2 separate regions of the Homo sapiens genome follow, and region 1 is linked to region 2. Evidence: promoter capture Hi-C in human tissues and cell types (Jung and others, 2019). All regions are on one chromosome and are shown on one strand. Each heading gives the region's core, a stretch centred on a gene start or on the middle of the fragment in contact. The rest is flanking DNA. Distances are from core to core; before and after follow the strand shown.

Region 1 (4,403 bases), core at 798-3,297, 860 kb after region 2:
TGTGTAATTTTCACAGTTAGAATTAACTTAGGAGAGCTGAAATTAACTGAGCCTCGGAAATCTGAATCTTGAAGTCACCAGTGGCTTTTGGGGCTGTGAGAGAGTCTCCTGTGGTCTTTAATCATGTGAGGGTGGGGTGAAATTCAATATTCAGTGGTTCTGCAATGGGATGCACTGTGCAATTGGTGATTGAGAAGCCAACTCTCTGGCTTTAGGAGAAGAATGTCTTGCTGTTAGTCCTTCTGGAAATAGAGCCTTGCATTGCCTACTGTCTGTTTACACTACCTTTGCACATTGCCTTTGGTTATAGAGTCATGTCCAATGGCTCTTTACTTCTGTTTGCAGGGCAGGAGATGGCACCCTGTTAAAGAGAAAGGATAGTAGCTGCAAAGTCATTTGTTTCTCTGTTTCTGTGACTGTATATATTGGCTCATCTTTGAATGGTCTTTATAGCCACACCAGGCTGGAGGTAACAGGGTCATGGGAGTGGACTGCTGGTGTGGGCTGAATCAGAGTTCAGATCCATGTCTCCAGGAGGTAGGAGGTGCAGGGCAAGTCATGTGGCTTCTGGGGCATCCCTCACTTTCTTAGTTAAGGAGAAGTTGAAGGAGCCGATCTAAAATATCTTGGGAGTCTGCAGAAAAAGTCGTGAAAATCAAAGCACTTTCAATTAAACTATATAATTTAGTCCTTACAAGAATGCCACAGGGCAAGCAACCAGTCAGGCCTTGGTAGTCGTGCTTCCTAGAAGAAAAGACTGAGGTTCAGAGAGTTGGATAGAGTATCAGATTTGGGATCAGTGGCTAGTCCAATGTGATTTCCATCCTTTCTTCTGAGAGAAAGCATAAGAAGGCCAAGAGGATGGTGGAAAAGCACAAGTCACCTGCCTGAGAGTCAACAGGGCGGGGGGTCTCTTTCTCAGTTTGTTCCTCTAAGTTATGGCAAATGTTTTTTGAGCTGTGATTATTGAGAATGGGGGCTGAAGTTCAACATGTAGTTGGCATGAGGGAAGTAATTATGATTGAAGAAAAGATTTGGGTGAAATCTAGTGTTCTTCCCTGCAAAGGGGGTTGTTCTCACGGATTCTTATGGTGCCATGTTTCTCAGAATTTGTAGTTTCAGTTACTTATATTTGCACACCTGACTTTAGATGAGCTCCAGAATAGCAGTTACTAATTAAGGATGAGCATTTAGAGTAGATAAAAGTGGCAGGAACAGCAAGACTCACTCCCAGAGAGCCTCACTACAGGTCTAATAGGTGAGGAAATTCCCCATGTTTCCCATTTTTCTTCATTACCTCCCTGTGGGGCAAGCACTGCCATTATTCATGAGTAAACTGTCTGAGTTATAGATAAGTAATGACATGAAACTTCACAAACACGCTGAGCACAGTGGCTCACGCCTGTAATCCCAGCACTTTGGGAAGCCGACGTGGGTGAATCACGAGGTCAGGAGTTCGAGATCAGCCTGACCAACATGGTGAAACCCTGTCTGTACTAAAAATACAAGAAATTAGCTGGCCATGATGGTGGGCACCTGTAATACCAGCTACTCGGGAGGCTGAGACAGGAGAATCGCTTGAACTTGGGAGGCAGAGGTTGCAATGAGCTGAGATCATGCCACTGCACTCCAGCCCAGGCGGCAGTGCAAGACTCCATCTAAAAAAAGAAAAAGAAAGAAAGAAAAAAGAAAAAAAGAAAGTTCACAAACAGGCCTGATTTCTACCCAGGGAACCACTGTTATCAGAGATTGGGGTTTGGAATCTTAAGCAACAAACACATGTTTATTCTCTTCCTTCCTGATGGCTTGCTCAGAGGACCTGTTTCCATTGCCCACTTTTTTTTTGAGACAGAATCTTGCTCTGTCACCCAGGCTGGAGTGCAGTGGCGAGATCCTGGCTCACTGCAACCTCTGCCTACTGGGTTGAAGCCATTCTCCTGCCTCAGCCTCCCGAGTAGCTGGGATTATAGGTACCTGCCGCCATGCCTGGCTAATTTTTTGTATTTTTAGTAGAGATGGGGTTTCATCATGTCGGCCAGGATGGTCTTGAACTCCTGACCTCAAGTGATCTGCCCACCTCAGCCTTCCAAAGTGTTGGGATTACAGATGTGAGCCACCACGCCCGGCCTCATTGGCCACTTTATATGTCAGTAAATAATCTTTCCTGGCAGAGGGTCCACTGTATCTGGAGGCACTGAAGGAAATCTGGGAGTGTCTGGCCAGGGCAAAGCACTGCTTAGAGCTTGCACAGGAAAAGCAGTGAGCCCTTCTTTTAAGCTGGAGAAAGCTTTAAAGATGCATCTTTGGCAAGTCTTGCCAAAGAAATATGGGTTCTAAATGTGATAAAACCAAAGACATCAAGCTGGCTCTGGAGGCCTTGTTTGAAGTTTGCTGAGTGGATTGTCAGTGGGAGGCTGATATTTATATGTACAAACACACAAGCATTACTGCTAATTGTGGTAAATCAGGCTGGCCAGCCTGGCTCTGGGGCCCACTGTGCCTGCCACCGCAGCAGTGTGGAAGCCTTGCATCCCAGGCACATGTCAGGATCCTCGGAGGCCATCAGCCAGCCAGCATTGTGTGAATTGCATTTGGGTTCACAGCACTGTAATTGTGTTTCTCCTGCTGTGGTGAGCAAAGGAGGAAAATGGAAGGAGGAGGTATAATTTGCCCTAGGAAATAGTCAGGCAAGTAGGTGGCACACAGGGGTGGGATATGGCTAAAACACTGACCTTCCCTTGAGAGAGACCATATGGTGAAGTGGAGAGGGCATGGCGTTTGTATCACACGACCTTGTGTTCAAATCCTGGCTCTGTCACTGGCTGTGTGACTTTGGGTCATTTGCAAAACCTCTCTGAGCCTCAACTGCCACTTCTTAAAATCAGCTCTAAGTAATCACAGGGTTATTCTTCACAAACACAGCATGCACATGCAAACTTTGGCTTAGTAAATAATGGTTTCTCCTTCTCTTACTTTGTTTTCTACATACCCCACTCCCCTTCCTGTGAGGAGCCTTCCACCTTTTTCTCTGTGTTCTCTTCCTCTCCCATTTTCCTGGTAGCATTCAATAAAACAGAAATCTGATTTCTGCAAAGTAGGCCACCTTACGGTAGAAATACATGATTAGGCCCCACCAAAAACTTTGATTAGGCTATTATCTTCTGGATCCTGGATCCCCTCCAACCAAACCAAACCCAACTAGGGCTAAACACAGCAATATATGAATACATTGAATTTCTCTCTCACTCTTTCTTTTTTTTAAACCAGTTTACTCAGGAATCACATGCACACATATTTTAGCTTCCAAAGCCAATGATGGAACAAATTGTGTCCCATTAGGCTCACTCCATTGTATGAGTTAGCATCAGAGGAGTTCATACCAGAGTGACTTCATCTTGAATAGGGCCTAGGTAAGAAGAGGATGAGACCTGCTGGGCTGCATTCCCAGGAGGTTACACATTTGTAGTCACAGGAGAGAAAGGAGTTGGTATAGGAGTTGATAGATACAGGTCATAAAGACCCCAGTGATAAAACAGGTTGCAGGCCAGGTTTGGTGGCTCATTCCTGTAATCATAGTACTTTGGGAGGCCAAGGCAGGAAGATTGCTTGAGCCCAGGATTTCAAGATGAGCCTGGACAACATAGTGAGACCTTGTCTCTACAAACAATAATTTTAAAAACATGAGCTGGGCATGATGGTGCAGGCCTATAGTCCCAGCTACTGGTCTGAGGGGCAGTTGGGTGGCAGGCTGAGATGGGAGGATGGAGGCTGCGGTGAGCTGAGATCAGGCCACTGCACTCCAGCCTGGGTGATGGAATAAGACCCTGTCTCAAAAATAGATAAATAAATAAATAAATAAGCCAGCAAAACCAGAATGCAGTGAAGAAGCTGGCCAAAACCCACCAAAACGAAGATGGTGATGAAAGTGACCTCTGGTCATCCCTACTGCTTATTACACACTAATTATAATGCATTAGCATGTTAAAAGACACTCCCACCAGTGCCATGGCAGTTTACAAATGCCATAGCAATGACCAGAGATACTCTATATGGTCTAAAAAGGGGAGGAACCCTCAGTCCTGGGAATTACCTGTCCCTTTCAGGGAAAACTCATGAATCTTCTACCGCTTGTTGAGCGTATAATCAAGAAATAACTATAGGTATACTCACTCAAGCAGCCATGCAGTTGCTGTGCCCATGGAGTAGCCACTCTTTTATTCTTTTACTTTCTTAATATATTTGCTGTCATTTTACTCTTTTGGCTTGCTCTTGAATTCCTTCCTGCATGAAGCCAAGAACCTTTGTGACCTCCCAGGCTGAACCCCAATTTTGAGTTCCACCCTATGACATCTTTTCTGGTGACCAATGAAGGGACAATGGTAACCTCCCGTTGACTTTAAATT
Region 2 (4,344 bases), core at 713-3,212:
ACTCATGTCTTCATTTTCCAAGTTCTTAAACAGAGCAGATATTCTGTAATTGCTAAATAAATAAATGATAAAACAATATTTATTCATCAAGGAGCAAGAAAACTCATTTAGTTGTTCAATCAAAATGGATTTCTCTCTGTTGACAAGCGAATGCCCTGTTTGTAAACTTTATAAATGAAAGAGACCTCAGAGATCATCTAACTTGGCCTTTCCATTTTATAGATGAGAAAACTGAAGCATAGAAAGGTTGATTGCCTGACTATACAACCTGCTAGGTATAATGAAGAACTGAGGCCAGGCCTGGTGGCTCATACATGTAATCCCAGCACTTTAGGAGGCCTAGGTGGAAGGATTGCTAGAGACCACGAGTTCCAGACCAGCCTAGGCAACATGGTGAGACATTGTCTCTACAAAAAATAAAAAATTAGCCAGGTGTGGTGGCACCTGCTTGTCTGTAGTCCCAGGTACTCAGGAGGCTGAAGTGGGAGGACTGTTTGAGTCTGGGAGGTAGAGACTGCAGTGAACAGTGACCCTGCCACTGCATTTCAGCCTGGGTTACAGAGTAAGACTGTTTTTTAAACAAAACAAAACAAAACAAAACAAAACAAAACAAAACAAAAAAACAGGCCGGGCGTGGTGGCTCATGCCTGTAAGCCCAGCACTTTGGGACACCAAGGTGGGCAGATCACCTGAGGTCAGGAGTTCAAAACCAGCCTGGCCAAAATGGTGAAACCCCCTCTCTACTATAAATACAAAAATTGGCTGGGCATGGTGGTGCGTGCCTGTAATCCCAGCTACTTGGGAGGCTGAGGCAGAAGAATCGCTTGAGCCCAGGAGGTGGAGGTTGCAGTGAGCAGAGATCGCACCACTGTACTCCAGCTGGGCAACAGAGTGAGACTCCGCCTCAAATAAATAAACAAACAAACAAAAAACCTAGACAAACCTAGAGCTCCAGTTTGAACCATGGTATGTCATCTTTTCACTGGAAGATGTGCTTTCAGAAGCGGCCTGAACATTTGGTTTACCTATTAAAATAAAAACTGTACATACTTTATGATCTATCTTTGAGAAACAGACAAATCTGCAAGGAGCCGTGTGGATCTTCATTGTCATTTTTTGTTGTAGTTAAAAGTGTAAAGTCAAAAGCAATCTGGGTGTACATCAATGGAGAAATAGCCATATTCACTCTGTGATAGCCATACTATGCAATTTTATGAAGCACTTAAAATAGATATAGTTTGATTCATACTAAAATGAAAAAGAGCTCCAAGACACGGATGCTAAAAAAAAAGAAAAAAAAGGAAGTCGAAGGATGATACTATACTGTACTGTACTATTTAAGACTTGTCAATCTCAGGTTCTCCCACCAAAACAGCACAACACATGAAGTAAGTGTATAGGAAATTTCGGAATGATGAACTCCAAACAGGATATGCATCTGTAGCAAGGGCTACCTCCGGAGAGAAGGGTAGGGGAATGAGGCGGTCTTTGACCTTGACAGTAATTTATGGTTTTTAACAAGGAGAGTGCATTCTTCATCTATTAGTTTTGCTTTTGTTGGCTGTGAAAATTAATTTTTTGAGAAATAGTACTGATTGTGATTTCTTCTCTATTCAGTGAGGAAAGGGAGTGACAGGTAATGATTCTGTATCAAGGCTGATTAAAGAATAAAAGAAGGCCTTTCTGAAGATTAAAAAACAAATAAAAAGTTGAGAAGAAAGAGCACGAAGAGTAGAAGGGAACAATGGTGTACTCGCCAGCAATGGCAATACGGGTTATTAAAAAGAAGGGTGGGGGCGGGGAACCCTGGCCGACTCAGGACGCCACGGGAGGAAGCCACGCAAAATAGCAAACCGGGATCCTAGAGGGGCGGGGCCCACCTCAGCGCGCAGGCGCAACCAGGCCCAGGTGGCCGCCGCGGAAGCGAAGCCACCTATACGCGCCGCGCCGCTTGGGTCTCCTGCGCATGCGCAGACGGACCTGCGCTGGAGGCTTCATCTTTGCCGCCGCTGCCGTCGCCTTCCTGGGATTGGAGTCTCGAGCTTTCTTCGTTCGTTCGTCGGCGGGTTCGCGCCCTTCTCGCGCCTCGGGGCTGCGAGGCTGGGGAAGGGGTTGGAGGGGGCTGTTGATCGCCGCGTTTAAGTTGCGCTCGGGGCGGCCATGTCGGCCGGCGAGGTCGAGCGCCTAGTGTCGGAGCTGAGCGGCGGGACCGGAGGGGATGAGGAGGAAGAGTGGCTCTATGGCGGTACGAAACTTCCTGTCTCTGTCTCTCGGGTTCTCTCAGGCCTCCCCTCTTGGCCCTCAAACGGCCGGCGTCCCTGGCCTCTCGCGCCGCCGCTTCGGGCCTCTGGTTGGGAGTCCTGTCCGGCCTGACTTAGGCCGAGCGCGGCGTGCGCGTGCCCCCAGTCCCCGCGGCGGTCTCCCGCCTGGCCCACGCCCACCATGCGCATCCACCCCTGTGGCGGCCGGGCCGGGCTGGGGGGCTGTGACCGGTCCTGGCCCCCGGCTTCGCTGTGCTTTCCCCGAGGCGTCTCGATCGCCTAGCTGCTGCGCTCTTTACCCTTGTTTTTTTCTGTCGATTCTGAGGTGGTGGTTTTTGGTGTCTGTTTTTGCCCTGTGGCCTTAGGGTGCCCTTCCTGTCCCTTCTTTCAGAAACAGTCATTCTGTAATAATAGCTAAATAAAGTTAATGCTGTACAACTAACGTCTTGTTTCTTGATGGTCAGTTTGTATGGAATGCACCTGCAAGGGTACCTCCTTGTCTGAAAGTCGTGCTTTAAAAATAATTAATTAAGAGAGAGAGAGAGAAAGATGGCCCATAAAGAAAACTCTGAATGTCTCCTGTATTAAGGTGAAGTTATTCTTTTTTAAGAGACTACCGTTTAACCTACATCATGGAGGTATCTCATGACCCTTCGGCTTATAGTTTTCAGTGTCATCTCATGTATTTGTTTTTCTCAAAATAAATTTAATGCATCATGTACTTCTCTCTAGAAGGGTACTTGTTTGACATCTGGTTTTTAACTTTAAGTCACAATCCCTTCTTGCTTGTTAACACCAGATTTGAAAGTTAATGTTTGTTCCTTGCCTAAAACATATATTCTTGATTGTCTTTAGAATAGAATAGTAAAAGTGCACTTTGGGCACCATGCAGGTCCTTGATGATGTGACTTTGATAAACTTGTAAAAAAAAATCGTTTGGTGGCAAGATTTAGCATTAGTTACTACTCTTTGAAATGTGAATGTGTAGGATTTCTTTTACAAAGATCTGGAAATCTTCATTACCTCTTAAATTTAAGCTTATTTTTATAGCAGTAAAGTCTGATTTTTTTTTCCATAAAATAAGTATCTTGTTAAGTAATTATAAGGTGATCTAACTTTGGATGTGCTTATAGGCCCATGGGACGTGCATGTGCACAGTGATTTGGCAAAGGACCTAGGTTAGTGCTTGTGATGATCACTTCAGATTTTCATAATACTAGTTTCTTTAAGAGTGGTTTCTTTATTTTGTTTGCTTATTTATTTATTTGTTTATTTTACTTGGTAGATGAAAATGAAGTTGAAAGGCCAGAAGAAGAAAATGCCAGGTTAGTGAAATTTTCTGTTGATGCCTATTACACAGGTTGTGTGAAACAATGGTTCTGTCAGTTGTCAAAATTATTTTCTTACAATCATTGGCTTCATTACAACACTGACTTACAACATTTTGGAGGACATTGAATCCTTTAAGGATTATTCCAGTTTCAGGACCTAATCTTACGCCAATTCTATTTGTTGGTAGTTTAAAGGACAAAGTTTTTGAACTTAGGATTGGACTGATTTTACACTGTTAAGTAACTTGTTACTCTTAAGTGAATTCAGTAGTGAAGTATACAGTATAATCGTTAAGCTACTGATAAAAATATTTTAACTTAATTGAAAATGTTTTTAAGTAAATCAGGAACACTCCAAACTACTGCTTTTCCAGTTTATTAACATTTTTGATGATATAATGGCAGTTTGGTTGTAATTTCAATGCTATGTATTGTTTGCATTCAAAATGTAATTAGCTGATTTGTTATAAGGTTGATTTCTTTGTTAGATTGTAAGAAAGATGTAAGTGTTCATTTATAGAACATATACAGGGAGTCAGAATTTTACCCCAGATTTCAAAAAGCAAGCCATGTAAAGAAGTACATGGAGATGTCGGCTTTACCCTGACCACATGCATTAGTGTCTGTAATGGAGGGAGAGGTAGTTAGAAGATTTTAAGGAATATTTGGGTTTAAAAAGTGGAAGATATACAACTTCATACCGAGTAAGCTGCAATCGAAAAGATAAAACAGGTGTTAGTGAGGATATGGGG

Evidence for each region. Contacts are between HindIII fragments. The study calls those that stand out against the background at their distance.
Region 1: a fragment that was not itself captured here is called in contact with the fragment with the promoter of FIP1L1 in region 2 in 1 of the 25 tissues and cell types used here (IMR-90 fibroblasts).

What each region holds. Positions count from the first base shown.
Region 1 is chr4:54,235,142-54,239,544 of GRCh38, forward strand. The region is part of intron 1 of PDGFRA (platelet derived growth factor receptor alpha); the gene reads left to right. Among named protein-coding and RNA genes, the nearest start is that of PDGFRA, 8.0 kb to the left of the region's middle. The HindIII fragment of the contact is 8,516 bases long and covers 1-4,403 here.
Region 2 is chr4:53,375,679-53,380,022 of GRCh38, forward strand. It overlaps FIP1L1 (factor interacting with PAPOLA and CPSF1), which reads left to right and starts at 1,963. Exons shown (of 18, transcript NM_030917.4): 1 at 1,963-2,245; 2 at 3,395-3,439; 3 at 3,547-3,586. The coding sequence starts at 2,161. LOC105377654 (a long non-coding RNA gene) reads right to left here and starts at 2,062. Exons shown (of 3, transcript XR_007058118.1): 1 at 1,981-2,062; 2 at 1-52. RefSeq lists enhancers at 1,681-2,229, 2,031-2,120, 2,171-2,290, 2,230-2,778 and a silencer at 2,451-2,540. The HindIII fragment of the contact is 6,649 bases long and covers 1-4,278 here.